4 separate regions of the Homo sapiens genome follow, and regions 1, 2 and 3 are each linked to region 4. The links are contacts of gene promoters, found by promoter capture Hi-C in blood cells and fetal thymus (Javierre and others, 2016). All regions are on one chromosome and are shown on one strand. Each heading gives the region's core, a stretch centred on a gene start or on the middle of the fragment in contact. The rest is flanking DNA. Distances are from core to core; before and after follow the strand shown.

The links. Contacts are between HindIII fragments. The CHiCAGO score rates a contact against its expected background, and 5 or more counts as called.
Region 1: a contact is called between the fragment with the promoter of UBE2J2 here and the fragment with the promoter of HES4 in region 4, in 15 of 17 cell types (M2 macrophages, naive B cells, M1 macrophages and 12 more). The highest score is 10.8, in M2 macrophages.
Region 2: the fragment with the promoter of ACAP3 here is called in contact with the fragment with the promoter of HES4 in region 4 in 4 of 17 cell types (endothelial precursors, erythroblasts, M0 macrophages and 1 more); the score reaches 7.5 in endothelial precursors.
Region 3: the fragment with the promoter of VWA1 here is called in contact with the fragment with the promoter of HES4 in region 4 in 1 of 17 cell types (naive B cells); the score reaches 6.0 in naive B cells.

The regions. Positions count from the first base shown.
Region 1 is chr1:1,268,822-1,275,859 of GRCh38, reverse strand. UBE2J2 (ubiquitin conjugating enzyme E2 J2) reads left to right here and starts at 2,006. Exons shown (of 7, transcript NM_058167.3): 1 at 2,006-2,194. It overlaps LINC01786 (long intergenic non-protein coding RNA 1786), which reads right to left and starts at 1,858. Exons shown (of 3, transcript NR_185846.1): 1 at 1,379-1,858; 2 at 561-1,057. RefSeq lists enhancers at 522-1,160, 2,351-2,858, 2,859-3,365, 3,366-3,874 and silencers at 1,372-1,421, 1,582-2,161. The HindIII fragment of the contact is 5,565 bases long and covers 1-4,366 here.
Region 2 is chr1:1,302,869-1,309,379 of GRCh38, reverse strand. It overlaps ACAP3 (ArfGAP with coiled-coil, ankyrin repeat and PH domains 3), which reads left to right and starts at 1,450. Exons shown (of 24, transcript NM_030649.3): 1 at 1,450-1,611; 2 at 5,237-5,294; 3 at 6,099-6,218; 4 at 6,405-6,458. The coding sequence starts at 1,565. PUSL1 (pseudouridine synthase like 1) reads right to left here and starts at 783. Exons shown (of 8, transcript NM_153339.3): 1 at 660-783; 2 at 408-465; 3 at 107-294. The coding sequence starts at 736. SNORD167 (small nucleolar RNA, C/D box 167) reads left to right here and starts at 4,568; the gene lies at 4,568-4,651. RefSeq lists silencers at 142-271, 282-421, 452-521, 742-1,421, 1,462-1,631 and 2 more and enhancers at 4,606-5,206, 5,207-5,806, 5,807-6,407, 6,408-6,511. The HindIII fragment of the contact is 38,674 bases long and covers 1-5,334 here.
Region 3 is chr1:1,430,646-1,437,448 of GRCh38, reverse strand. VWA1 (von Willebrand factor A domain containing 1) reads right to left here and starts at 1,759. Exons shown (of 3, transcript NM_022834.5): 1 at 1,628-1,759; 2 at 1-522. The coding sequence starts at 1,700. LOC107985729 reads right to left here and starts at 4,216. Exons shown (of 4, transcript XM_017003066.2): 1 at 4,161-4,216; 2 at 3,378-3,486; 3 at 3,047-3,253; 4 at 1,900-2,913. The coding sequence starts at 4,216. The coding sequence ends at 2,299. LINC01770 (long intergenic non-protein coding RNA 1770) reads left to right here and starts at 2,876. Exons shown (of 2, transcript NR_125996.1): 1 at 2,876-3,261; 2 at 6,787-6,803. RefSeq lists silencers at 1,642-1,831, 1,590-1,959, 2,706-3,000 and enhancers at 2,786-2,845, 2,105-2,848, 4,337-5,080. The HindIII fragment of the contact is 8,860 bases long and covers 1-6,803 here.
Region 4 is chr1:998,123-1,004,753 of GRCh38, reverse strand. It overlaps HES4 (hes family bHLH transcription factor 4), which reads left to right and starts at 4,657. Exons shown (of 4, transcript NM_021170.4): 1 at 4,657-4,888; 2 at 4,967-5,062; 3 at 5,141-5,228; 4 at 5,322-5,790. The coding sequence starts at 4,781. The coding sequence ends at 5,695. RefSeq lists an enhancer at 2,475-2,614 and silencers at 2,665-3,014, 4,092-4,141, 4,242-4,621, 4,692-4,831, 5,382-5,691. The HindIII fragment of the contact is 9,560 bases long and covers 3,180-6,631 here.

The DNA of each region.
Region 1 (7,038 bases), core at 757-3,256, 270 kb before region 4:
ATTGAACCCGTGTAAATAAATCATGTCTCCCTAAAATGTATAAAAGCGAGCTGTGCCACATGCACCTTGGGCACCTCCCGAGATGTCATGGGTGTGTCCTTAACCTTGGCAAAACAAACTTTCTAAAGGGACTGAGACCTTCCTCAGTTTGCACCCTCCAGGCTGGGTTCTCTGTCCCTCAAGCATCCCCTGGCCAGACAATCCCTGCTGTTCAGAGGCAGCCAAGGCTTTCTGGTCCAACCCTGGGGGCTGGAGGAGGTGGGGGCAGGAGGTGGTAACTGGGTTGGGGGATGTTTTCTTGGTTGCCAAAGCAGAGGGTGCCCCCCGCTGCTCAAGATGCTGAGGGTGGTCCCTGTTGTCCTATTCCTGAAGCTGCCAGAGGAAGTCCCTCCGGAGGGCTGGCCCACAGCAGAAGGGCTGCTCCTGCCCTCAGAGGGCAATCTCAGGGTTGAGAAGGTTACAGCCACCATCTGCCACCAACCTAGCTGCTTGTGCCGATCCCACTGGCCAAGGCCATCGGCTCTATGGCTAGAGGCCTGGGCAGCCTGTGTCCTGCTTACCAGAAGGCCACAGATGCGGGTGGGTGGGGTGGTGGGGTCTTGGCAAGACGTGCTGGCCACACCTGTCCGGGGCACCTTCTCCCTGGGGTGTGACTCAGCCATGCTCCTGAGCAGGGGCCTCTGAGTTGAGCCTCGCTGCAGTCTTCCCAGCTGCAGGGCCCCCACAGGTGTGCTGTCATCGCACACTACTGAGGGACAGACAAGGCAGAGCGGGCCTCCATCTGCCGCGGGCCACAGCCGTGAGTGTGCATGCGAGTGGATGTGCTGGTGCCTGTATCTGCGGCCGGTGTGGCTTCCCTCACATAACTTTCCATGCTGTGAAAACAGTTTGGCCTGCCCTGCATGGGAACGGCAGAGGCCTGAGAGGAGGCAGAGGAAGGAGGCTGGATGCTGAGATGTTCTCCGAAGGTGGAGCCGGTGACGGCAGTAATGGAGGCAGGCTGGATTCCCACGGGCTGAGGCTGCGTGGACACTCCTCCTGGCTTCTGCCCCACGGCCTGCAGCAACGTCTCAGACCCACCAAGGTGTCCCAGAGGGCCAGAGTCAGGGCTGAGCATGGACACAGCCTGCCCTCTGCCCGTAGCCACAGCGGGACTGACCCTCAATATTCAGCCACCTTGCTGACCTGTGGTTGTTCCTGAGAGGCAGTCAGGGTTGGGGCAAAGGAGAGGGCCACAGGCAGCCAGGTGGCGAGGTCCACCTCCTGATCCCCCACCAGGGGACCACCCTCAGCTCCCCGCTGTCCTCAGCGGCCTCTCAGGGAGGCGGTGGGCTGCGCGCCTGCCCCCAGCGTCCCACCCCAGCGCCCCGCCACCTACCGCTCTCTCCCAATGTGTCTGGGGTCAGAGAGAGGTGGAGAGGACGCAGCGCCCCGCGCTTTCTGCAGTCTGTCCAAGGGGAGGTCAGGGGCATCCCGGGGCTGGGCAGGCACCTGCAGGGGAGGGTGCTGCGGCGCGGACGTGGGTTGCAAAGAGATGCCACGCGTGTCACTCTCGGGTCCCTGAACGAGAGAGCTCTGAGCTCCCTGGAGCCCAACCCTCCACTGAGCCTCCAGGGGCCCGGGACGCTCCATGCCCGGGCCGCGCCGCGCCTCCCCTAAGGGCCGGGTGGGGCGTGGGAGCGGAGGACAAGGCGGGAGCCGGGAGGCGGGAGGGTCGGGGTTCTTTCTCCACCGGGGTCGCCCTCAGCCGGGCCTGCCGCCCTGGGCCGTGGCACATGGGGAGGGAAGCGCGCGGCTTCGGGGTCTGGGGCTCTCGCGCCCACTAACGGTGCCCGGAGCCGCCCGCCAGTGCGCAAGCGCCGCCCCGCCCCCCGCCCCATCCCCCACCCCGGGGTCGACGGCGACAGAGAGTCGTGGGCGCGGTCCGCCAGTCTGCCTAGAGCGGCCAGCCCTCCCCCTCCCTCCTCACCGCCCCGGACCGCGCACCGGAAGCAGAAGCTAGGCTGGTTCCGCCCCGCGAGCGGCCATCTTGGAGGCTGAGGCGGCGGCGGCGGCGCTGCGGCGGGTTCGGTGGGCCCAATCCCGGGGCGGTGCGGCTGTTTCGGGCGCGGGCCCCGCTTTTCCGCACCCTGCTCCGGCCTCGACTACGGCGAGCCTGAGCGCGGCGGCGGCCCACGCGCAGCGACAGGGAGAGGTGAGCGCGCTCGCAGGCCTGCGCCGGGTCCTCGGGCCCGCTCGTCCCCCCTGCCGGAGCCGGCCACAGCGGCGGCCCGGGGCTGCTGGGGACCCTGCGCGACGCTTCTCCGTTCGCGCCCGCCGCCCGCGGGGCCCCGGCCCGAGCCTGCCTGCGCGGAACCCGAGGTCGGTTACGGCGGGCTCCCGGAGCTCCGGGTCAGGGTCATGTCGGGGACTTGACCACTCGGCCGGGTTTCCCGTCAGCTGGGACACTTGCAGCTGCCCCAGGACGGGCAGCCTCGATCCTGGTTCGTCAGTGGATCACGGGAGTCTGTGTCGGGGGAGGGCTGCCGTCGAGCCCGCCGTCGCCTCGCCCCTGAACTGTTAGACTCCAGACTGCCCCGTAAACCCCGAGAGAAACGAGCGTGCCCGGGACTGTGCTTAGGGCCAGCGTTTCTGGGAAACCCGGGCGGTGACAGTGGGAGACCACCGCCGGCCGGCGAGTGAGACACGAGCCCGGAACAAGTCTCTAAGCGGCGCCGGGCCTCGCCATCCACACCTGCCAGTTCCCTGCATCCTTTCAGCCCCTGGCCAGGTGTCACCTCCTGGCGTCCTTTTCAGTGCCTGCCACTTAGTGCGTGTGTATTTAACTCTAGTCCGGTTGCCATCCTCTTGCCAGACCCAGATAGGAAGCGGCTGAAAGGTCGGGCCTCAGCCCGGTGGGAGGTGGGCAGCGAAGAGTGTACAGCGGGCTTGGCTGGGGCAGGTCGGTGGCCCCGCGCCCTGCTCCAGGGGAACCAGACTGTGTAATCTGGCTTCCGAAGAAAGGATCGTGAGTATCTCGCTTAGTCTAGCACCTGAGCCTAGGGCGTGGTTGGGTCTGGGTGCCCGGAACTTGCAGTCCGTCATCTGCACGGCCTGGCACCGCTGACCTCCTTAGCAGTTCCACTCTCGGCAGGGATGTGCGTGAGTGACAGGCAGGTGAGCCAGGCAGGTAGGTGAGTGCTTGAGTGACAGGCAGGTGAGCCAGGCAGGTAGGTGCGTGGATGAGTGACAGGCAGGTGACCCAGGCAGGTGCATGTGTGAGTCGCAGGTGAGTGTCCCATTTCCATCGGCCCGGGCTTCCGTCCAGCCTCCGGAGCAGTCTGGTGGAGAAGGCAGAGACTTCCCTGGCAGTCCTGGACCTGGGTGTGCCATGCGCCTGGCCGATGGGTCAGGCCAAGGTTTCCTGCCACATCCCCTAAGCAGGAAAGAGCTGTCCAGACAAAGAGGGACGGGTGAGGGACGCTGGGCAGCCACTGCCTCAGCACCTGGGCACAGCTGCCCTCGGTGATTCACGCTGCTTTAATGCAGTTTCTGTGTGTGAACATTTTTTTTTCCTGTGCCTTTTTGTTTTAAAATCGCCAACTCTTTCTCTCAGCAGGATGATATGCTTGGTGTCCTTTGTCTGTGGGGATGTTTGAAGGGAACCCGAGGCACATATGCTTCAAACTCTGTTCTCACAGTTTGCTTCCTTTGTGGAATTTTTTTTTTTTGATACAGGGTCTCTGTTGGCCCAGCTAGAGTGCAGTGACATGATCTCAGTTCACTACAGCCTCCGGCTCCCGAGTTCAAGTAATTCTCCCACCTCAGCCTCCAGAGTAGCTGGGATTGCAGGTGCCCACCACCACACCCGGCTAATTTTTTTTTTTTTTTTTTTTTTTTTTTTTTGAGACGGAGTTTCGCTCTTGTTGCCCAGGCTGGAGTGCAATGGCTTGATCTTGGCCCACCACAGCCTCCACCTCCTGGATTCAAGTGATTCTCCTGCCTCAGTCACCCGAGTAGCTGGGATTACAGGCACATGCCACCATGCCTGATTAATTTTGTATTTTTAGTAGAGACGGGGTTTTACCATGTTGGTCAGGCTGGTCTCGAACCCCCGATCTCAGGTAATCTGCCTGCCTGGGCCTCCCAAAGTGTTGGGATTACAGGTGTGAGCCACCACGCCCAGCCCCTTTGTGAATTTTTGTTTTCCTTGTCCTTCCTGCTGTCATATTGGGATGAGAAGAATTGGGGGAAATAGCCCCCTGGCCTCCTGGGGGACGTGAGAATGCTGTTCTGTGTGAAGCTCAGGAAGAGTGGCTGGGGAAACAGCAGTTGAATCGTGAACATGATTTTAAAAGCCTCTCCAAGCAGGTATGGGAGAGAAGCTTGTTTGTGACTCATTGGATGGAATCTATTTTATTTTTGCGCGGCTGTCCATGAACTTTCGTTAAACCTGCGGCCTGGCCACTTAGCTAAGCCCAGACCCACCTGCACTTGAATTGTCCAGTGAATTATTTTGTATATGGCAGAGTGTTAGCTTCAGGGTGAGTGTCGAAAGGACAGCCTGTGTGGCGGTGCTGCTTGGGGTCATCACTGTGGCCATCACCAGGTGTTGGCCTGAGGGGAGATCCCTGGCCCATTGGCTTCTTTAGCCAGGAGCTGGGGATGCCACTGTGTGGAAGCACTTCCTTCCCAGGCAGGACTGTAACCCCATCCCTGGTGGGGGCCCTCCTGGGGAGGCACTCCTTAGGCAGAGGAACCCGCTGGGGCCCAGAAGGGCCCTGCGTTGTGTGTGGGGTCACATGGAGGCCAGTGATGTGTGACAGAGTGGGAGGCATTTGGCAGGGAAATCAGGGAGGCCTCTGAAGGCGGTGGCTCTGGCTATGCCGGGAAGGGCCTGGGGAGTTTCCAGTACAGGCTAGGCTGGGAAGCAGCTGTGAGAAGGAGTGTGTCGGTCAGGACTTTGGAGTGGGACCTGGGCCGTGCTGGGTCTTGGGAGTTGGGAACGAGGAGGGCTGGCTGGGGCTGCTCTGTCTTGGGAGCTGGGAATGAGGAGGGCTGGCTGGGGCTGCCTCTGTCAAGGGGCTGGCAGGCAAGAGGACGTGTTGATGTTTATTTGCTTGGCTGTGGAGTATCCTGAAGGGTGGATGGGGGAGTGGGTGATCGGAACAGTATGTTGACTTATGGGTACAGGAGGGCCTTGAAATGGGAAGAGACTAGAAGCTCAGACCTTCTGGACCCACGGGGGGAGTTGGGAGGCTCCTGTGGTGTTGATGGGAGAAGTGATGACATTTTGCGTTAGAGAAGATAATGAGAGTGGGAAGGCTGTGGTGAACAAGGATTGCAAGAGTCAGGGACCCCAGAACAAGAAGCAGGGTTGGGGGTGGTGCTGAGGCCACACATTTGGGAGCACGCGTTGGGTGCCCTGGCTGAGCTCTGCACTCCAGGCCCTGGGTGTGTGGGGTGAGCAGCCAAGCCCTGGCCATTGACATCCTCAGGTTGGGAGCAGACACTAAACAGGCTGCTGGTGGTGGTTCTCTGAGGAGGAATAAACCGGTTAGAGAGGCCAAGTCTGTAGATCTCTTGCAGGTGGAGACTGAAAGGAGGTGGAATGTGTGGCTGTCTACAGGTGTATGAGTTGGTTCTCATGCTGCTATAAAGATGTACCCGAGACTCAGTAATTTATAAAGAAAAGGGGTTTAATGGACTCACAGTTCCGTGTGGCCAGGGAGGCCTCAGGAAACTTACAATCATGGCGGAAGGGGAAGAGGCATGTCTCACATGGCAGCAGGCTAGAGAGAGCGGGCAAGAGCAGGGAACACTGCCTTATAAACCATCAGATCTCCTGAGAACTCGCTTTCACTGGAACGGCTTGGGGAAACTGCTCCCATGATCCAGTCACCTCCCACAAGGTCCCTCCCTCAACATGGGGGATTATGGGGATTACAAGTCAATATAAGATTTGGGTGGGGACATAGCCAAAGCATATCAGCAAGGAAACTGGGTAGAGTAGACTTCCGGTTTGTGGGAACTGGGAGGTCAGGATGGAGATCACTGGTCACTGTCCGTTATCGATGGCCACTGATGTCCACAGACGTTATTAAATCGTGTGGCCATGGCTGGGCGCGGGGACTCACGCCTGTAATCCCAGCACTTTGGGAGGCCGAGGTGGGCAGATTACCTGAGGTCAGGAGTTCGAGACCAGCCTGACCAACATGGTGAAACCCCGTCTCTACTAAAAATACAAAAAAAATTTGCTTGGCATGGTGGCAGGCACCTGTAATCCCAGCTACTTGAGTGGCTGAGGCAGGAGAATCACTTGAACCCAGGAGGCAGAGGTTGCAGTGAGCGGAGATCACACCACTGCACTCCAACCTGGGCAACGAACAGTGAGATTCTATCTCAAAAAAAAAAAAAAAATAAGGTTTGAGTTGGAGCTAGTCTGATGCAGCAGGGAGCCCTGTTTTCATCACCACCCCTCTCCCCAGTCTCAGGTGTGGCTGAGGGGCCTTGGGGTCCCTGATCCAGCCTCCTCTCTTGCATGATGATCACCACCCCTCTCCCCAGTCTCGGGTGTGGCTGAGGGGCTTTGGGGTCCCTGATCCAGCCTCCTCTCTTGCATGATGATCACCACCCCTCTCCCCAGTCTCGGGTGTGGCTGAGGGGCCTTGGGGTCCCTGATCCAGCCTCCTCTCTTGCATGATGATCACCACCCCTCTCCCCAGTCTCGGGTGTGGCTGAGGGGCCTTGGGGTCCCTGATCCAGCCTCCTCTCTTGCATGGTGCCTCGCGCCCCATGCTCGGCCTTCAGTGCTGTCTTGAACGTCCCAATGGAGCCACCAGAGTGACTTTCCTAACAGAAGATATGATCTGCCTTGAGGCTTGGACCCCAAACCCCTGTGGGGCCCGGGTTACCGTGGCTCCTGCCTGTGATTCCAGCACTTCCGGAGGCTGAGGCCTGAGAATCAGTTGAGGCCAGGAGTTTGAGACCACCTTGGGCAACATAGTGAGATCCCAGCTCTACAAAAAAAAAAAAATTAGCTAGGCGTGGTGGCATGCG
Region 2 (6,511 bases), core at 201-2,700, 310 kb before region 4:
TCGAGCTCCGACCAGACAAGGAAGTCTGTCCAGATCTCCAGCCTCCGCCCGCGACAGATGGAGTCGGGAAGGCACAGCCCCAGGGCTGCTTAGGTCGCGGGCTCACCTGATGGCCGGGTGCCGCAGGTGTGTGTTGAGGGCCTCGGCCAGGACCTCGGGCGGGAAGGGCGGCCGGCCTGAGCGGCGCTGGACGTCCAGGTGCGCCGCGTTGCTCAGGGCGTGGACCCCGGCGTCCGTGCGGCTGGAGATGGTGAACCTGACCGGCTCCACGGAATTCAGCCGCTCGGCGGCCTCCTGCAGGACCGAGCCGCGGGGCGGGCGGGTGAGCGAGGCCGGACCCCGGGGACGCGCGGGCGGGAGCCTCCCCCTTACCCCTCACCGGGCGTCCCGTGACCGGCTGAGCGCACCTCCAGGTAGTTCTGGACCCCGACGGCGCGCTGAGTGCCCCTGACGGCCGCGACCCCGCTGCGGGCAGAAGCGGGCGGAGGTTACCGGGGGCGCCCTGCCCTGGGGTCTCCGCCGCCGTCTGAGGCCAGGGCCGCTTCCTTCCCCGAACGTTTGGAACCCGCGTCCAGAGACATCCGCCTGCCCGCCCGCGCCCTCCTTCCCGCCTCCGCCCGGGCCCACGTGGCGCCCGCCGCTGCGCCTGGGAAACCTACTTAAAGTCGGTGCCCACGTACTGGAAGTACACAAGATAGCGCGCGCGCACGGAGCCTGAGGCCGGCGCCGAACTCATGGCGGAGCCCAGCCGGTGGCGTCAGAGGCGGCCTCCAGCGCAGGAATCCTGCGCGCGCGCGGACGCGGCCTGGTCACGCCCCCCCCCCCTCCCCCCCGGCCCCGGCCGCTCTTGCGCCTGCGCGGTGGCACCGCGCCACGGCGGCCAGAGTCGGGGAGCGGAGGCGGGGCCGGGCTTAGGGAGCGGCTGCAAAGTGCCGGCCCGCCGCCGAGCGCAGGCGCTCTACCTCTATCGCGGCGCCCCGGGAGGCGCGCACCAACCACGCGGTCACCCCGCGCTCTCGCGGGCGTGCATTCGTTCACTCGCTCATTCATTCGCCGCCGCCCACACTCCCCGAGCGCGCCCGTTCGCCGCGTTGCGGCCAAGTCCTCCCAGACGTGGTTTTTGCAAACGCCCTGAGTTGCGCAACGGCCGGGATGGTTGGAGCGGGCGGGCCCGCGCCCTCCCCGCGCCCTCCCCGCGCCCCACATTTCCACCGACTGTCCCCGGAGACGGCCGTGGCAGGCCCCGCCTCACTTCCGGACCGGGGTGGTCCCTGGACGCTGCGAGAGGCGTTTGGCGACGCTCCCCGGCGGTGACAGCGGGCGGCGCGCGCGGGCGGCGGACCTTGGCGACGCTCCCCGGCAGTGACAGCGGGCGGTGCGCGCGGGCGGCTGACTTTGGCGACGCTCCCCGGCGGTGACAGGCGGGGCGGGGCGCGGCGCGGCGGCCTCATTCCGGGGCGGGCGGGCGCCGAGGCGGCGCGGGCGGGACGAGCGGTCCGGGCCGGCGCGGCTGCCGCTCGGCGCCGCGGTCCTCGTGCCAGTGAGCGCCGCGGCCGCCGCAGCCATGACCGTGGAGTTCGAGGAGTGCGTCAAGGACTCCCCGCGCTTCAGGTGCGCCGCCCGGGGCCGCCGGGGTGGGCGCAGGCCGGGGGCGTCGCTGTCGCCTTTGTGCCCGGCGGCGGGGTGGGGAGGTCAGCGCCGGGCCGGGCCGCGGCCGCCGGGGAGGGGCTGGAGGACCGGCCTCGGACAAAGCGGCGGCCCCGCCCCGCCATGCCCCGGGGGTTGGAACAAAAGACGCTCCTGCCCTGTGCGGCCGCCCCGGGTGGAGGGCGTGCGCGTGGGCAGCCGTGGGCACCTCGGGACCGTCCGCCCCCGCTCTGTGTCTGCACCTCCACTGGGCTGAGCCCCTCCCGGGCCCTGCAGTCCAGCTCTGGCCAGGGTCGTCTGGGTCCGTGGGGGCGTCGGCCCCTGGTCTCTGACTTGATCCTGTGTCCAGAGCAGCGCGTGGGGAACAGGCAGCTGGAGCCGCGTTTAAGGCCTGGGGTAGGGTGCTTGGAAACGTGAAGTGGTTTGAATGACCCAGGGGCTTGGAGGGGTGGCGGCCGAGAAGAGCGGCGGGGAAGGTCAGGTAGGGGGTAGGGGTTGTGTGCACACCGAGTCTGCATGTTTTCCATCATTCGTGGCGTGCAGGCGTGTACACCTGCGTGAACTACATGTTCACAGACGTGTGCACAAGTGTGCATCGGCTTTGCTTGGTGGACATTTGGCAAACGACAATGGAGGCAAAGAAACCTCTCTGCATCCCCAAGTGCGCACCTGCGTGAGGCCCCCTCCTCTGCACGAGCTCGTGCGGGGTGCGCTCTTGTGAACTTTGCCCCTCTGCGTGCCTCCCTCCGGACACCAGGCCTTGCACAGGACGTGTGGATGAGCTGTGCCACGGGGCTGTGCTTGCTTCTGCATGTAGCCTGCCGATGAGTGCACGCAAGCGTGTGCACACACCACCTGTCTGTGTGGGTTCACGTACTGTGTTAGCCATGTCAGCAATAGACACATCACCTTGTACACGCGTGTTCCATCACTAGGTACACATGTTGATGCGTGTCTGTGCAGTGTCTCCTTGAACACACATGTATGTGTGGTACCAGTGTGTGCAGGCATGTTTGTGCATGAACATGTTTGCACATGTGTGCTTGATTGTGTATGTGTGGGTGTGCACGCGCGCGCTGGGTCTCTTGGGATCTGCTGGCAAGTCAGCATGTGTGTGGAGGCACGGGGAGCCTCTGTATCCCTGGAGCCCTCACCAGGAGGCTCAGGAGCCTTGGAGTGGGAGGCTCAGGGCCAGCCAGGAGAGTGGCCGCCAGCCCTGGGCAGAGGAACTGGGGCCATCCTCTGCTCTCCCATCTTCTGTTGCTGACCTGGGAAAAGGGGTTGAATAACTTGAGCACCCTAGGATCCTGCATTGAGGACCCGGGCTGTGGGGAGGTGTGGGCATGGCCTCCCTGCTGGGGGCTGGACCCTGGCTGAAGCACCCACCTTCTCCCTGGCCCCTCCGTCAGAAGCCTAATGGACCTCCTCCTCCACGCAGACGGCCCTGTACTGCCCTCTTCCAGTCGTGTGGGGGTGCTGGAACCCACTCACCTCTGGGCCTTCTCTCTGGTAACCGGCTCTCATGGGAGCCTGTTACAGGAGCCAGTTATGGGGGCTGTGGGGCTGCAGTAGGTGCCGTAGAGTGACTGCCCTGGGAAAGTGCCTCACCCCTGTGGGGCATGGACTGGAGTGGGGAGATGAGAATGGCCTGGCCCAGTGGGTTTTGGGGTTAGGCTGTGATTTAACTGGGGTTCGAGGGGCTCCCTGAGGCTGTCCTGGGGGCAGGCCCTAAGGGCGTAACTTGAGTTTCCTGGCCTACCGCCAGGTTGGGGGGCCAGGCAGGGTGGGCGGGAAGATGTGGTCTGTAACGTGGAGCCTGGTCGCCCCAGCCCGGGAGAGGGGGACCCTGCCCGCACCCTCCTGGTCTGGGGAGGGCCTAGTGGCAGCCCAGGTGCAGTGGGCCGGAGGCCAGGGGAGCCCGTGTAGGGGAACCGCCTGGCCTCTGTTCAGTGTGCCCCTCCCCTGGGTGGGGCTTCAGGCGCTGAGTCATGGCTTTGGTTGGGGGGCAGCCTCACCCTCCTCCCCGTCCTCCAAGCTGCTGAGGAAATCCTGGGCTGAGCACAGCAGAGGAGGCCTAGGTCCCCAGGACTGAGGAAGGGAGAGCTGAGGGGCTCCCAGCAGTGGGAGCGGCTCTCGGGGCCTCTGCCAGGGCCCACCCTGTCCCCATGAGCACGTCCGTGAGCTCCTGGGTGCAGCCATCCCCCCTTGCTGGCTCTCCAGGGACACGGGCGCCCCAAACCCGAGGGCGGCAGCTCTGGGTGCAGCTGTCTCTGCATCCGGCCCTGCTCAGGGGTGGCTGCAACTCCTGGGGTGTGGCGCTCTCTGCTGCCTTCTCCTGGGAGGATGGTCCCTTCTCTGTTCTGGGATCCTCCAGCTGAGGTAGAGGTCAGGGTCCAGGGGCTGCAGGCTGGGCACTGGCGGTCAGCGGACACCACAGCGAGATTCCCTCCATCGCCCCCTGCTTCGGGATTCAGAGTCCTCTTAGCCCCTTGGGAACAAGAGAGGGCTGCTCAGAGAGGACCTAGTGTCCTTCTGGGGTGGCTGGGACCCTTCAAGGTCCCTGGCTGGGGCAGCCTGGTGCCTGCAGCTCCAGCTCCTAATTGAGGACACGCCCCATGTAAACCACAGGCCCCTCCCCCGAGGCCTGGGACACCGGTCAGGGTAGCAAGGTACGAGGGACTGTAGGCCCTGATGGCCTCTGCTCCTGGACCCCTGCCCTAGACCTGGAGTCCTGGCCCCAGCCCGGGCCCTGTGGTGCCCAATCCCCAGGAGGCCAGATGGCCCGGACAGCCAGTGAGCCGATTGTGTGGAGGGCTGCCGGGATCCTGGCCCTGTTTCCCTGTTGCCTGCTCCCGGAGGGGGTGGTCACGTGCCCGATCCATCTGCCTCCTGTCTTCCGGGGATTCTCCCGCCGAGGCTTCTCTGGTGATGTCATGCCTTAACTCTTCTCTCCCCAGGCAGCCCCACTGTCAGGCTGTCCTGGTGGGAGTGGGCTCTGAGGAGGATGGCCTACCCGTCTTTCCAGCGGACCATGCCGCTTGCAGCTGTGAGGTTGGGGGAGCCGGGGGCGTCTCTCCCCAGCTGGTCTGGGTCCTCCTGGTGCTGCCAGGACCGAGAGCAGCTGCCCTACTGCCCCCACCCTGTCCCACAGTGCATGGGTGCCAGACCTGGATGGGCTGCAGTAGTGCAGTGGGGTGAGGGGAGGTGCCGCAGGGTTGAGGGGCTCCAGATGGGTCCAGGGTTGACTCTGAACTCCTAGAGGAGAGGCGGGTGAGGCTGGCTCAGCCCTTGGTGGGCACTGTCCCTGAGGGACTCCCAGCGGCCGGCTGTCCTGGGAGAGGCTGGTCCAGCCTTCTTCCCCGAGGGCACAGCAGCGGCTGCCTCTGCCTGCCTGGGGTTGGGGGGGCGGGGGGAAGTGCACTGAACCTGGTCCCAGTCCTGCCCCCGTAGCAGGCAGGCGTCTGTCTCCCAGCCTGTTTCCTGAAAGCCCCTTCCCATGGTGGAGCCCCTCAGGGAGGTGCGGGGGGAGGTGAAGCCCCGAGGGGGCTGAGGCTGCAGGTGACCCCAGCCAGCCCCGTTCTTGCTTTAGGGCGACCATTGACGAGGTGGAGACGGACGTGGTGGAGATTGAGGCCAAACTGGACAAGGTGAAGGGCGGGCCTGGAGCGCCCTGTGCCCGGCCAAGCTTGGGATGGCCACATGGCCAGACTCGCCCTCCAGGCCTTACTAAGCCACTTACACCCCCCATATGTGGAGCATGCGTGTGGTGCTCCAGGTCCTGGTCCCTGTGTCTTAGCATGTGTGTTCCAGGGTGCACATGTCACATGCACACATGTGGCTGGCCCTGAGTCTCGTCCCATCTGGGAGGGGCTGGGCTGTGGTGAGTCCCCGACCCACGGTGGCTGCCCGTCCCCTCTGCTGGGCTGGTGACACGGGGACAGCTGCTGTGTGGGCTGAGCCTTGGTGTGGCTGGGGCTGGGGCTGAGAAAGGGGAGGGGGCAACAGGCCGTGGAGGGGGGAGCCGTGTCCATGAGCCCCACATGGGCTGAGAAAGAGGGGGCAACAGGCCGTGGAGAGGGGAGCCGTGTCCATGAGCCCCACATGGGCTGAGAAAGAGGAGGGGGCAACAGGCCGTGGAGCTGGGAGTGGGCAGCCTTATCCATGAGCCCCACATGGGCTGGTTCTGCTGGTCCTGCTGGCCCTGGGTCCCCTGCCTGGCTCCTGGTCCCTCCCAGCCGAGCCGTGGCGGCCCCACCCTCCCCTCCCAGACGGGCCTCCAAGCCCCAGGCAGGCCCAGGCGTGAGGAAGCTGCACCGGGGCACTGAGTCCTGAGTGCCAACGCCCTGAGTGGAACCTACCCTGGGAGCTCTTCCTGCCTCTGAGTGGCCGTGTGTGGTGGCGAGTGCAGGCGCCAGTGCCCACTGTGCTCACCACGCCCCGCTGGCCCACAGCTGGTGAAGCTGTGCAGTGGCATGGTGGAAGCCGGTAAGGCCTACGTCAGCACCAGCAGGCTTTTCGTGAGCGGCGTCCGCGACCTGTCCCAGCAGTGCCAGGGCGACACCGTCATCTCGGTGAGGGGCCGACTGACCTCTGACCTCAAGGTGGGGTTGGGGGAGAGGCCGAGGGAGGCAGCCCCTTGAGGGCGTCCAGGCCAGAAGCAGGCCGGTGTCTGCACCGCCCAGGGGCTCAGAGGGCGTGGCTGGGTGACCTGGGCCCGGATTTGCCATCTCAGCACGGGTTCCCATCTGCTCCTCCAGGAATGTCTGCAGAGGTTCGCTGACAGCCTACAGGAGGTGGTGAACTACCACATGGTGAGCGCGGCCTCCCTGCCACCTGTGGGCTGTGCCTGGCCTGGAACCGAGCT
Region 3 (6,803 bases), core at 510-3,009, 440 kb before region 4:
GCAGGTCATCCACGTCCACAAAGTGCAGGTGCTTCTCGGCAGGGGCTGAGGCAGCGGCTGACAGCTCCAGGAAGTTGCCTCGGCCGGTGCTGACAATGAACACGGTGACGCCCAGGTCCTTGAGCTCCTGCATGGGGGGGCCCACAGGGTCGCTGGAGCCGCCATCTGTCACCCACACCAGCACTTTGGGCACCCCTGGCCGGGCACCTGATGCTTCAGCAAACAGCTGTTCCTTGGCATAGACCAGCGCCAGGCCAGTGTGGGTGTCACCCATGCGCTGGGCAGAAGCACGCACCGCATCCTGGGCAGCCTCACCCGAGCTGTGCTGGCCGAAGGGGAACTCGGTGTATGGCCGACTGCCCACGTGCACCAGACTGGCACGCAGGGCCCCGGTGCCCAGGGGCAGTGGAGCCACCAGCTGCCCCACAAACTCCCGAACCCGGGAGAACTCGTAGTGAGAGACGCTGGCTGAGCTGTCCAGCAGGAACATCAGGTCCCCTCGGGGGGCTGATGCTGGTGGACCTGGGGGAAAGGAGGAATGCTCAGCCTCAGGTGTGGGCCCCCCAGACAGCCCCACAGCAAGGCAGGGTCCCCCAGGGCCCCAGCTTTCCTTAAGTGGATGCTTGCCTTCTCCCAAAGGTCCTAGGTTGGGGGAAAGAGGAACTCTAAGCAAGAGGCCTGTACTTTTGGGGGTTTCACTGCACACTGGCCATGGGATCTAGGGCTCTCTCTGGGCTTGTGTTATCCCATCTGTGAGAGGGCGACTCTCCGCTCCAAGCCCCCACACCTTCCCATTCCTCACAGACCCTGCAAGCAGGTGGAGCCAAGAGTCCTGGCCTAGGCCCCCAGGACAGGCCTGAGCCGTGGGGCTGTTCCCTCCAGGCATGGCTTTCAGAGGAGCAGCCTGAGGCTGGAGTTCAGCCACGCAGCTCAGCCTGCAGGTGAGGCACCCTGGGCATGCACACAGCAGCAGGGGAAGGTGTCGGAGGCACAGCAATGACCACGCCGGATGGCCTGGCTGGAGCCCAGACCCCGCTTACTAGATGGTGGCCCCTCCCCTGGCCTCCATCCTCCAGCCCACCTGGACTCACACAACAAGATATAACCCCCAGCAGCCTGAAAGCCGGAACAGCCCCTCGCAGGCTTCCCCCTTCCTCCGGGCACCTCCGGGGTGGAGGCTGATGCCCCCTACACCGCCCCTCCCCACCAAGCCAGGGCACCAGCGTGCCTCAATTCTAGTCCCGGCCTTGCGGTTTTCCCCAGTGCGGTGGGGCGACTCCAACTTCCCTACCATCCCTCCACTAAGGGCCCTCGCAAGGGTAGGGAAACTGAGGCAGGGGTGCCCCCTTGACAGACATCTCCCTCTTCCTGTCCAGGCCCGCGATCCCGCAGAGATGCGGGCCGGGACGGCCCCTATGCCCCGGCGCTCACGGACGGTGTCGCCTGGAGCACCTGGGCCGCCAGCCTCAGGTGAGCAGGACGCTCCGCCCGCGCCCCCGCCCGGCTCCCGCAGCCTCCCAGCCCGCCCGCCCGTCCGGAGCAGGGGACAGCGACGGCCTTGCGCGGGCAGCGGCGCAGAGCGGTCACCAGAAGCCCCAGCCCCGGCCCGGCCGCCCGCCGCACTCACCGCGCTCCGCGCCGCTCCGCGCCAGCGCCAGCCGCAAGCTCAGGGCCAGGCCGAGCGCCGTCCAGGGGAGCATCGCGCGCGAGGGACGGGGCGCGCTCGGCAACTCGCTCGCTCGCTCGCTCGCTCGGGGCTGCAGGGCGCGTCACCGCGCGGACCAGGCCGGCCCCGCCCCCGGGAGGCCCCTCCCCGAGCGGCCACACCCACGCCGAGGCCACGCCCACGCCCTCCGGCGCGAGCGGAGGGCCACGCGCACAGACCCCGGAGAGGCGCGCACGAGCGGACCCCGACACGCAGGGACACGCAGCACCAGCCGAGATACGACCGAGGCACGCACGCGCAGGCACGCACACACACACACTCCAGTCTCCCTCTCCCGGCCGAGGCTGTGCGGCCCACGCTCTCCACCCCTCTCCGACCCCCAGCCGCGGGAGCCGAGCAGGGAGGTACCAGGCTAGGCCCTCCCCATGCCCACCACTGCCGTGACTCTGGGTGCTGGGGTCCCAGCAGCCAGGCCCAAGAGAACCCCAGGGGCTGGCGGTGGCACCAAAAAAACACGTCCAGACCGTGGTTTCGCCTTGGCCTCCGCGCTGGAGGCGGATAGGTGTCTGGAGTAACAGGACATGTATCCCAGGGACTGACCAGCAGGGATGGGAAGGACCATGGGGTGGAACTTACAAGGACACAGTGGCTTGAAAGGGGACAGAAGACAGGAATTCGAGAGAGACTCGAAGCACCCACGCCACCTGGGCTTCTTGGAGGAAGAGGCATGGGAGTGGGAGATGGTTGGTTGAGGCCCTGTCCAGTGGGACCACACTGGGCCTGTTACCCATATACCCTACCCAGTGAGGGGCCCAGACTCCAGGACCCAGGACACACCCCCAGCAGGACTGGAGGGTCCCACTGGTGAGACAGGAGCTCTTGAGTCTTGGGGTCTTGGTGAGGCCCAGACGAGAGGTGGCTGGTTGCAGGGGGCGTCCTGAGGGACAGTGGCTCCCAGGGCAGATTTCCCCTGCTTGGGTGGGGCTGGGCCAGCAGTGTCCCCTGGACAGGAGAACCCTACCCCGGCCCTCCCTCGGAGTAGCCATGGCCCTCTTCCAGGGCCTCCTCAGCTCAGAGCTGGGAGGTGGGGGACGTGGGGGGGTGTCTGCCAGGATGTCTCCTCCTTCCCCACCCTCTCCTGGAGGATGCGCCGCGGGAGAACGGATGGGGCTCCACAGGCTTCCTTCCTCCCTTTCAGGCAGGTGAGACACCGCGGGGCCGTGCGGACGGCCAGCACTCGACTTTGCCTAAAAAAGGAAGCAGCAGGCTGAGGCTGAGGAGCTGGCGGCAGGAACAAGGGAGAGCTGTGTCCCCGCCGGCGCCCCCCACCCCCCCTGCCGGGGATCTTGGCAGTGGAGGTGCTGGCTGCGCTCCACAGACCTCAGACCTCGGCTGGGACCAGAAATGCCTGGTGCTTCCGCCTGGGCCCGGTGGGGGGACTTTGGGTCCCCAGAGTGCAAGCTGTACCACTTCGAGGGGCCTCGCCAGGCCCCCCAGCCCCCAGTACACAGGGGCTGCCGTGGAGATGACGCTGAAGGCCGCAGCCGCTGGAGGACCTGGGGTCTGACCGGAAGCTGGCTGCAGACCCTGCGGAGGCACGTCCAGGTAGTCAGGCAGGGAGCTGGGCCGAGGGTCCCCCACCCTGGGGAGGCTCACAGCCAGTGGCCCGCTTGTCCCCCACCCTCGCCCAGCAGGCGGGCCACAGTCACACCTCAGCCAGCCTTGCAGGGCTGACGGGGAAGTTTCCCTCACTTCTGGAAAAAGTGAGCGGGTCTTCTTGGCTGTGACTCAGGCCCTCAAGGAAGCGGCCGCCCTCCTCCCTTCAGCTCGCCATCAGCGGGAGAAGGCACAGGAGGCCTGGCCTCCACCCAGCCTGGGCCGAGCTCAGCCACCTGCCTTGCTCCCGGCTCTGCCTGGAGTCCCTCCAGCTAGGAGACCCTCCCCATCAGCTCTCCCCGTGCCCCTCAGTCTTCAGGACTCATTCTTGTGTCCTGCCCTCCCCCCGCTGTCTCCACCCCGGAGGAGGGACGTGGACAGAGGGTCCCAGAGAGCATGGGGTCAGCCAGAGGTGCAGTGTCAGGGCCCGGGCCGGACTTGAGGCAGACACCGGAGGAAGCACAAATATAACAGCCGGAACCCTCCACTCTCCAGGGAGAAGGGCCCGGGGTAAGAGGCAGAGGCAAGGACGGGTCAGGCCAGATCACAGTGGGTGCTGGCCCCGAGCCCTCTGCCTCCTGCAGGCACAGCCCCTGTCTGATCCTGGTGGCCTGGGGCCCCATGGGGTGGGGAGCAGCCTGGTTTGGCTGCGGCCACCCCGCCCCCACGGTCTGGGCCTGGGCTGTGGGAGTCCCTGTGCCTCACTTCCCGGAGCCAGCCTGCCCTGCCGGTCTGTCTGCAGGCAGGTGGAGAGAGTTCCAGGAAGCTGGGGAGGCTGCTGTCACCCGGGCACCGCCCCTGCCCCCACCCGCCTTTGGGAATGCTCCCTCCTCCGCACAATCCAGGCTTCTGCAGAAGATGAAGGGCCTTTTGTCCCCAGCTGGCTGTGGTCATGTTTGACCCTGGGTAAAAGGGCAACTCCTGAGGCCTCTGACCCCACCCCTGACCCGAGCTGAGGGCAGGACGCCCAGGCCCGCACCCGGCGCCTTTTGTTGCTGTTTTCACGTATCTCACAAACGTACTCAAGCACACACAGGAGCAGATGGACGGGGCGGTGAGGGGCAGCAGTGGTGAGGGGCAGCGGCGGTGAGGGGCAGCGGCGGTGAGGGGCAGCGGTGCGGGCCTGAGGCACTGCTCTGGGGTGTGCCTGAGCCCACCCCACAACAGTAAGTGGGGCAGAGCAGGGGTCACCAAGAGAGCAGGGCCCACGCAGCTCCTAGACTCAACCTGCTCACTGGGGTCAAGGACAGGTCTTGGGGGCCTCGGGGGTCACTTTTCACTTCCCAGGAGCCCAGGCCTGCCCCTCTGGCCCCAGAGCTGACCCCCCTCAGTCCCCCGTGCCAGCAGCAGCTGGGGTGGCGGGTAGACACCTGGCGGGTAGCAGCCTGGGTAGGGGTGGGAGCTGCACCATCTGCGTCTGTCCATCCATCCCTCGTCTGTGTGCTGGGCACAGCCGCGCCCCAGCCTCAGTGCTGGGGACACACAGGCGCCGGGCCAGCACTGCCAGGCTAGGAGGGTGGGCGGTGAACAGCTAGGAAAGATACGGTCTACTTGTTTTCCCTGTGAGAACAGGGGGTCACTGGGGACTCGCACGCAAGGGGTACCCGAGGAAGAGCCTTCCAGGCAGAGAGAAGGAACCGCGAGTGCTGAGAGCAGGGTGGGGTGGGCAGGAGGGGCCTGCGCCAGGACTGCAGGGGCAGAGCAGGCTGGGGGCCTTCGGGAGGGGTGGCCGGGTGGAGGGTGTTGCCGGCCTCGACAGGGGCAGGAGGTTCGTCACAGCGAGGACAGAGCCCGGCCCGGTGGGAGCCGGAGAGCAGCAGGCCTGAATGACCCAGGGTTTCCTAATAGCAGGGCCCCTTCCTTGTGTGGGTCCCCTCACTTTGCCTCTCTGCTGGGACATCCTTCCCTGAAAGGGAGAGGAGGACCACATGCTGCCCCTTCCCCAGACACAGTCCAGACAGGCCCAGGCCACAGCCCTGGGCAGACGCAAAACTCCCAGGGGCCTGGACTGGGATAGGGAGGAGGCAGCAGGGAGGGACTGACCTATGTCCACACACCACAAGGGACTCCCAGAGGCGGGTGGGGCGGAGCTGGGAGCAGGGGCCTTAGCCCTCAGACCAGCCCACTCACCCTGGGGAGTTCCTGCCCCACAGCCTGCCCAGCTTACAGGCCTGGGGGCAGGGGCAGGCCAGCACAGGCCGGAGGGACAGAGGGAGCCACATCTGAGGGGTCCCCCAGCTGCTCACACCGTCTGAGGCTGTGCTTGCCAACAACTCTGCTCCCAGGAAATATTTTGCAAATCAGGAAATGACACCGGGCAAGGTGGGAAGCCCACTGCATCCAGTGGGGTGGGGCCCCTTACTGCCTCCCCTGCTCCGGCATGACGTGTGACAGGGACGCAGATGGGACACACACAGCCACACACACACACTCCGGGCTCCCATTTGGGCAGGGCAGGGGCCTCAGCCACCGGGAAAGAACGCCAAGCAGAGGTCCCCACAGCCACCCTGCAGCTCGGCTGCACCCAAGGAGTTCAGGCCCCTGGGCCAGTGGAGAGCTGTGGTAGAGACTGCAGGAAGAGGGAGGCTGCTCCTGGCCCTCAGGCTGGGGGAAGGGGCTCTGGGGGAAGGGGTGTAGAGGCACCCTCAGGGTGGGGGCGGGCCTGGGGACCCAGGGTCCTGAAGTGGAGGGGTTTCGGTCAGGGACACCATGCTGGGCAAAAGTTGGGAGAGATTCATGGGGTCCAGGTGGGGTCCTGCCCCTGCAGGGGCTAGAAGGGCTGGGCAAAGGCCAACTGTATACCTGGGGCCTTGAGGAGGGGAACCCTGGCTGGGGGCCCCACCTCCCCCTCATTTCATGCCCCCCTCCTGGCTTCCCAGATGGTGGCCGATAAGGGAGCTGCTTAGGATCCATGGAAGGGGCCAGGCAAGAACCCGGGGGAAGAACCCAGGGGCCTCAACGCAGGGCCCGTTCTGTCCTAGGGGGTGGGGCCCCTGCCTTCCAACGTGGGGCCTCTTCTGTCCTGGGGGTGGGGCCCCTGCCTTCCAACGGAGGGCCTCTTCTGTCCTAGGGGGTGAGGGGGTGAGGGGGTGAGGGGGTGGGGCCCCTGCCCCGGCACTCGGGCTCTGGCCTTCCTGAATCGCCCCTTCCTTGCTTCTCTTCCGCCGGCCAGGCCTCTGCTCTCCGGGGCTACGGCCTCCCACAGGCACGTTCCTACATCCCTCTGTGAACCGCCCACAGGCCCCCCCACAGGTGTTCCTCTGTGAGCTGGTCGGGCGGCCGGGGCCGGGGCCGGGCTTCGCTGCTCCGTGCCTTCCACCTCCCTGGCGGTGCGGGGCCTCAGGGTGGGCCTGGGAAGCTGGAAACACCTTTGGAAACAGCCGCCTGAGGCAGCTGTGGACAGAAGACCCTGCCCAGCAGCCAAGGGAGCTGGCCTCTCCGCTCAGCCTCCCCACCCCCACCAGGCCCAGCTGTTGTTTTC
Region 4 (6,631 bases), core at 3,408-5,907:
GGGAGTGCCAGTGAGGAGGGACAAGGGCACCCACCTCGTCCTGGTACAGCAGAGAGAAAAGCAGCGCCTGCCGGGAGCAGGAACAGGCTGGGAGGGCATCCCAGACAGGCAGGGTGGGGAGACTCCAGTACCATCCTGCTTGGAGACACAGCTCCCACCGCTGCTGAGAAGGCATGCAGGTGGGGTGGCAGTGGCACCAGCCTGGTGCTGCTGCTTCTGCCTGAGTCCTGGTCTCTCTCTGGCAGCCTGGATTCCTGCAGCCCTGGCCTTCTGTCACTACAATCCCAGCAAACACCCAGGAACAGCTCTGCGCCCACCTCGGCTCTCCGGGAGAGAAACCCACCCCCACCCCAGCCTTGGTTCCTCGGTGGCTTTGGCCCCAGCTGCCTGAGTGCACAGCCCGCTGCCCTGGGCAGGAGTTGGGGACCATGCTGAGGACCACCTGCAGGGGGTGGCTACAGGTCTCTGATGTCAGGAGTCAGTGTGTGAGGGGGGTGTTGAGGGCCGTGGCGAGATGGCAGCCGCCACCTCTGGGTCAGAGGTTGGGAGGGGAGGTCACAGCCAGCACCTCACAGGCCTTTTGGGGACACTGGCTGTGGTCATGGAGTGCGGCCACAGTGGCCCAATGTGAGGAGACCCCCCAACAAGGCTGAGGCCCCCCCAGGTCCAGCCTAGAAGACACCCCGGTTTTCCCCACAGTCTCCCCACTGGCGTGTGAATGTCCTCATCAGTCACCCCCCTTAGCTAACAGGGGGCTGTGCAGATGCCCCGGGGCCACCCGCCATTTGGAGCTTGACCCACTCAGGGCCAGGAGGTCGGCTGGATTTCAGTGGCTCCCAAGAAGCACCCGTTAGATGGGGGGGAGGGGTGGGGAAGTCGCTGAGCCTCTGCCTCTGTGGAAGAGAGGAAGGGATCAGCGAGGAGGGAGCAGGGGTGAGGAGGGAAGGGTCACTCTCCCTGGGTCAGGGCCCCAGCCCACCTCCACTATTCCAGTCTTGAGTGCCGCACCACAAACCACCCCAAAACAGCACGCTCAGCAACCACCCTACTGTGTGCGGGCAGCCTTGGAACGGGGCGCGCTGGGACCTGCGCCGGAAGCTGCTCAGGAGTCTGGAATCCAATGCTGATTCCTCCACGGGGCCTCTCCTTGAGGCCAGGGCGTGCTCCCTCCCAGCACGGCAGCTGGGTTCCAAGAGCGACTGTCCCAGGACAGCGAGGTACGCATGGCGTCTTCCAAGTCAGCCTCAGAAGTCATGTCCTGCCAAACACCCCATTCTTCCCAGCTGAGACTGTCACAGAGTCTCATGTAGAAGGCATTTCAAGATATGGGGATGGGAGATACTATCACGGCCGTCTCTGAAAAACGCAACCTGCCCCCAACCCAGGTGTCGGCACCATCCTGGGCTGCAGCCCAGGATCCACCCCCACACTCAGAGCAAGGGAACCCCAAGGCCCTCAGGAACCCTGAGGCCCCTACCACAAATCGAGGCCAGATTCGAGAGGCAGGGAGGGGACCATCAGAGGCCAAGGGCACAGACCCAGAGAGACAGACACACAGATGGGAGCTGTCCTGTGGCAAAGAAGGTGGGAGGAACACAGTCCCCGGAGATCCTGGAGTGGGCTCCCTGGCAGGGGGCAGGGAGCAGGGGGGTCTCTTCCTCTCCAGAAGAGCAGAGGCAAGTGCTGGTGGCCCCTCCTGCCTCTGCTCAGCAAGGACCCCAGCTGCTGCCCAGGGGCAGGAACCCTGGCAGATGGGCGTGGGTGCTCACTATGAGTTGGACGCCGTCAGTGGCTTTAAAAGTAGAATCTCCTGGCCAGGCACGGTGGCTCACACCTGTAATCCCAGCACTTTGGGAGGCTGAGGTGCGTGGATCACCTGAGGTGGGGAGTTTGAGACCAGCCTGACCAACATGGAGAAACTACATCTCTACTAAAAATACAAAAATTAGCCAGGTGTGGCGGCACACGCCTGTAATCCCAGCTACTCCAGAGGCTGAGGCAGGAGAATCGCTTGAATACAGGAAGCAGAGGTTGTGGTGAGCCCAGATCGTGCCACTGCACTCCAGCCTGAGCGACAAGAGTGAAACTCCGTCTCAAAAAAGAAAAAAAAAAAGTAGAATCTCCTATTAAGACCAGCCTGGCCAACACAGTGAAACCCCATCTCTACTAAAAATACAAAACACTAGCCGGGCGTGGTGGTACATGCTTGTAATCCCAGCTACTTGGGAGGCTGAGGCAGGAGAATCGCTTGAACCCGGGAGGCAAAGGTTGTGGTGCCACTGCACTCCAGCCTGGGCAACAGAGCGAGACGCTGCCTCAAAAAAAAAAAAAAAAAAAAGTTAGCTCCCTTTTACAGATGAGAAAACAGGTACAAGGAGGGGAAGTGAGCCCATCTAAAAACCAGTGAGGGAATGATCAGTCCCAGCCACGCTTGGCAGGGAGGAGACTCACGCCTGTAGTCCCAGCACGTTGGGAGGCCGAGGCAGGAGCATCGTCTCGGGCCAGGAGTTCGAGACCAGCCTGGGCAACATAGGGAGATCCCCATCTCTACAAAAAAAAAATAAATAAAAACGATCCTCAGGCTCCTCCTTCCATCCCGAACTCCCTGCCTGTCTAGGGACTGGGGGAGGCCCAGAGCCCCCCCAAATTTCTTCCCAAGCCGGGGCCCAGGGGCTGGGGAGATTCAGGCCGGCAGCTCCCCTGGGATGACCCCCAGCAGGAGGCGGCGGCGACTGCGGCCACTGGGGGCGCTCGCGGGCTTTCCCGCCCGGGCCCAGCGCTCAGGCCGGGGAGGGACGCGGGACGGGGACACCATCCACACCACCTCCTGGGCTACGGGGCCGGTCCGAGCCTCTCCAGCGCCGAGGCGCGCGCAGAGAGGTCGGGGCAGGAGAGCCGGGGCTTAAGTGCTCGCGGGGCCACCTCCGAGACGCCCGCCCAGCCCCCGCGGCTTTCCCCAGTCGGCGAGGGGCGCGGACAGCCTCTCGGCGGAGAGGGCGCCACCCCCGCTCCGGCCTCGCAGCCCCCCGCGCCCCTGTGCAAGCGGCGGGGTGTGGGGGGCGCCTCAGGGGCACCGCGGAGGGCCGGGGTCAGCGCCGCGAAGAGGGCGCCTTCCCGCGTGGGCCGCAGGACTTTGCTTGGGGCCAGATTAGACGTGGGGTCCGAGGGGAGGGGAAGCTTCCGCACAGAAACCCTGGGTCCAGGTGCCCGGGCAGGGGCGAACCTGCCAATCAGCCGACTCCCTGGCTCAGAAAAGCTCCCCAAAAAGTTCCCCGACTCCCTCCCCGACCAGAAGCTCCCGGTTCTCGCTGGCCCAGCTCCCCCTCCCCACCTCCCTCGTCCCTGCGCCCCCTTCGCACCCTGGGAATGCCACGCCCTCCCTTGAGGCTTCCCCCCTGAGGACCCCCCACCCCGCAGAAGCCTTTGGGACCACCCGGCGTCAAGAAGGCTTTTGTCCACCCAGGCCACCCACCTAATTCGGTTCTCTTACGTGACTGCTGAGTCTGCCATCTGCCTCCTGCCCGGATTGAAAGCCCGGGAGGGTCTCCACACCCGGGCCCAGGCCAGGCTCTCCAGGGGGCTCAGGAAGCCTCCGCTGCACGGACGCGTGAGGCCGCCGGGGACCCCGAGTGCGGAAAGGACCAACGTGCCCCGCAGCGGCATTCGAAATAAAAACAGCAAACACGAAAATAACCACAGCCCTGTTTTACGCAACCTGCCCCTTTGCAGTTATATTAACAGTGGCCCCTCATTTTTCTGTGAGCCCCACTTTGCTGCTGCTGAGTTCGCCAGCGGGTCACCTGGAAGCACGTGGCGACACGGGCCACATGACGTCATCCCAGCAGGCTTGCGTCATCGCCCCGGGTGCCTGGTGACGTCACCAGCCCGCTCGCGTCACGCGCACGTTCTGCTCCTCGTGGTCCGGCCCGGCCCGCGCCATCACCGGCCCTGCTCTGCGGGGCCACCCGTGCGCCCCTTCGCCGTCCGCTGACTCCGCCCTCCCGCCTGCCGACCCGGCCGCCGACCTTCCCCCGGCTCTGTCGCTCCCAAGGCTTTCTGCAGCCCTCCGTGCTCCAGGCCGCACACCTGAGGGTGGGACCCCCGGAGGCCGAGCCGGTGTCGGATCAAACTCGGAGACCGAGCAGGGCCCAAACCGGGACCGGAGTGGGGACGGGCGGAGGAAGCCAAGAGGCTCGAGACCGAGGCTCGCCCACCCCTCGGCGCCGCCGGACCCTGCGCCACTGGGGGAATTTCCTTCCCGACTTCCCGCGCGGCCACAGCCCCAGCTCCGTCCAGCCCCGGCTCCCGGCCCCCTGGGCGGGAGAGTGAGCCCCGAGACTCCGCCCAGCCCCGGGGGTCCCGGGCCCCGTTCGCCCCCAGCGGCCCCTCCCGGCGCGTTGCTCGGCCCCGGCTGCATCGGGGAGCGCGGGATCACCCGGCCCTGTCCCCAGCGGTGTCGGAGGGGGGCGCGGGCGGGGGCCCCGCATGCCATTGTCGCCCGCGGAGGCCGCGCCCGGAGCCGAGGCGTGACTGACAGCGAGCGGGGGAGGAGCGCGGCCGTCGATTGGCTGGGGCGAGTGTGGGAAAGAATGCGGAGCCGGGTTCACACACCCCGCGGCGGCGAGGCCTTAAATAGGGAAACGGCCTGAGGCGCGCGCGGGCCTGGAGCCGGGATCCGCCCTAGGGGCTCGGATCGCCGCGCGCTCGCCGCTCGCCCGCCAGCCCGCCCGTGGTCCGTGGCGGCGCGCTCCACCCGGCACGGGGAGGCGCGGGGCGCACCATGGCCGCAGACACGCCGGGGAAACCGAGCGCCTCGCCGATGGCAGGAGCGCCGGCCAGCGCCAGCCGGACCCCAGACAAGCCCCGGAGCGCGGCCGAGCACCGCAAGGTGGGGTCCCGGCCGGGCGTGAGGGGGGCGACCGGGGGGCGGGAGGGACGCGGGACTCAGCCGGTGCCCGACCCGCAGTCCTCCAAGCCGGTCATGGAGAAGCGGCGCCGAGCGCGTATTAACGAGAGCCTCGCTCAGCTCAAAACCCTCATCCTGGACGCCCTCAGAAAAGAGGTAAGTCGGGGGCGAAGGCCCGAGACCCGGAGTCTGGGTCGCAGCTGACCTGGACCTCCCGCCTATCCCCGCCCCCAGAGCTCCCGCCACTCGAAGCTGGAGAAGGCGGACATCCTGGAGATGACCGTGAGACACCTGCGGAGCCTGCGTCGCGTGCAGGTGACGGGTGAGGCGCGGGCGGCGGCGGCTTGGAGGCGGGGGGAGGGCGCGGGACCCCCGGGACCCGGCACCGACCTCTCCTCCTGTGTCGCTCCCGCAGCCGCGCTCAGCGCCGACCCCGCCGTTCTGGGCAAGTACCGCGCCGGCTTCCACGAGTGTCTGGCGGAGGTGAACCGCTTCCTGGCCGGCTGCGAGGGCGTCCCGGCCGACGTGCGCTCCCGCCTGCTGGGCCACCTGGCAGCCTGCCTGCGCCAGCTGGGACCCTCCCGCCGCCCGGCCTCGCTGTCCCCGGCTGCCCCCGCAGAGGCCCCAGCGCCCGAGGTCTACGCGGGCCGCCCGCTGCTGCCATCGCTCGGCGGCCCCTTCCCTCTGCTCGCGCCGCCGCTGCTGCCGGGTCTGACCCGGGCGCTGCCCGCCGCCCCCAGGGCGGGGCCGCAGGGCCCGGGTGGGCCCTGGAGGCCGTGGCTGCGCTGAGGCTGTGGCCCTGAGACTGCATCGGAGGCGGCGCCCCGTTCTAGGGCCGTGGCCTTTGCCGAGACTGTAGCAGAGAAAACGTATTTATTATTCCAGAGTCTGCGTCACGAGTTTTCTTTCTTTGTCTTGGTGAAGAGTTGACTTTGGGAGCGCCCCGCAGCCACGCCGCGCCGGGGTCCCGCCCTCCTCCCAGGGCCGCGGTCTGCAGGTGGCTGGGGGCGTCGGGCGGGCCCGGGGGGGCGGGCTGGGGGCGGGACCGAGGACTGAGGGCGACCCCTCCGCTCCGCGCCCTCCGCTCCGCGCCCTCCCCTCCGCATCCCTGCAGCCCCGCATGCGCACCCGCCCTCTGCCCCCGCGTTGGGTTTGCCTCGCTCTGCGGTGGCGGTTGTGAGGGGTCCCCCCGGAGGCTCAGGTGGGAAGCTCAACGTCCCTGAGTGCCCAGAATCTTCCCGGTGCTGGAAGGCGGTCGCGCAGCATCGCCGGGCAAGTTACTTTTCGGAGGCCCCTTTCCCGACTCCCAGTCCCCGGACCGCGGAAGGCGGAGGCTGCGGTCCTGAGCGGCGCTGGGATGAGGGCGGCCGCCCTTGGCCCTGAAGACCCCCGCTGGGTTCTCCTGTTAAGTGCAGAGCTGCCCGTGCCCACCGCAGACCCCTCCTCCAGGCGTCTGTGCGGGGGGCGCCCGGCGGGAGCGCGCGGGTCCGAGCTGGGCTGTGGACACCGAGTGCCGGGGCCAAGGACGTCGCTCACGAGGGCGTCGGCCCTGCCCGCAGCCTCCCCTGCCCCGGTAAGGGAGGTTCCGCCTCCCCAGTGGGTGAGGACTGGGGGCTCCTCCCTCATCGTCCCGAGCACGTGCCGTTGTCGACCACCGAGTTACCAGGCAGCGCCGGACGTTCCCCTGAACCAGCGCCGCGGTCGCCATCCCGGTCCCGCGTTCGG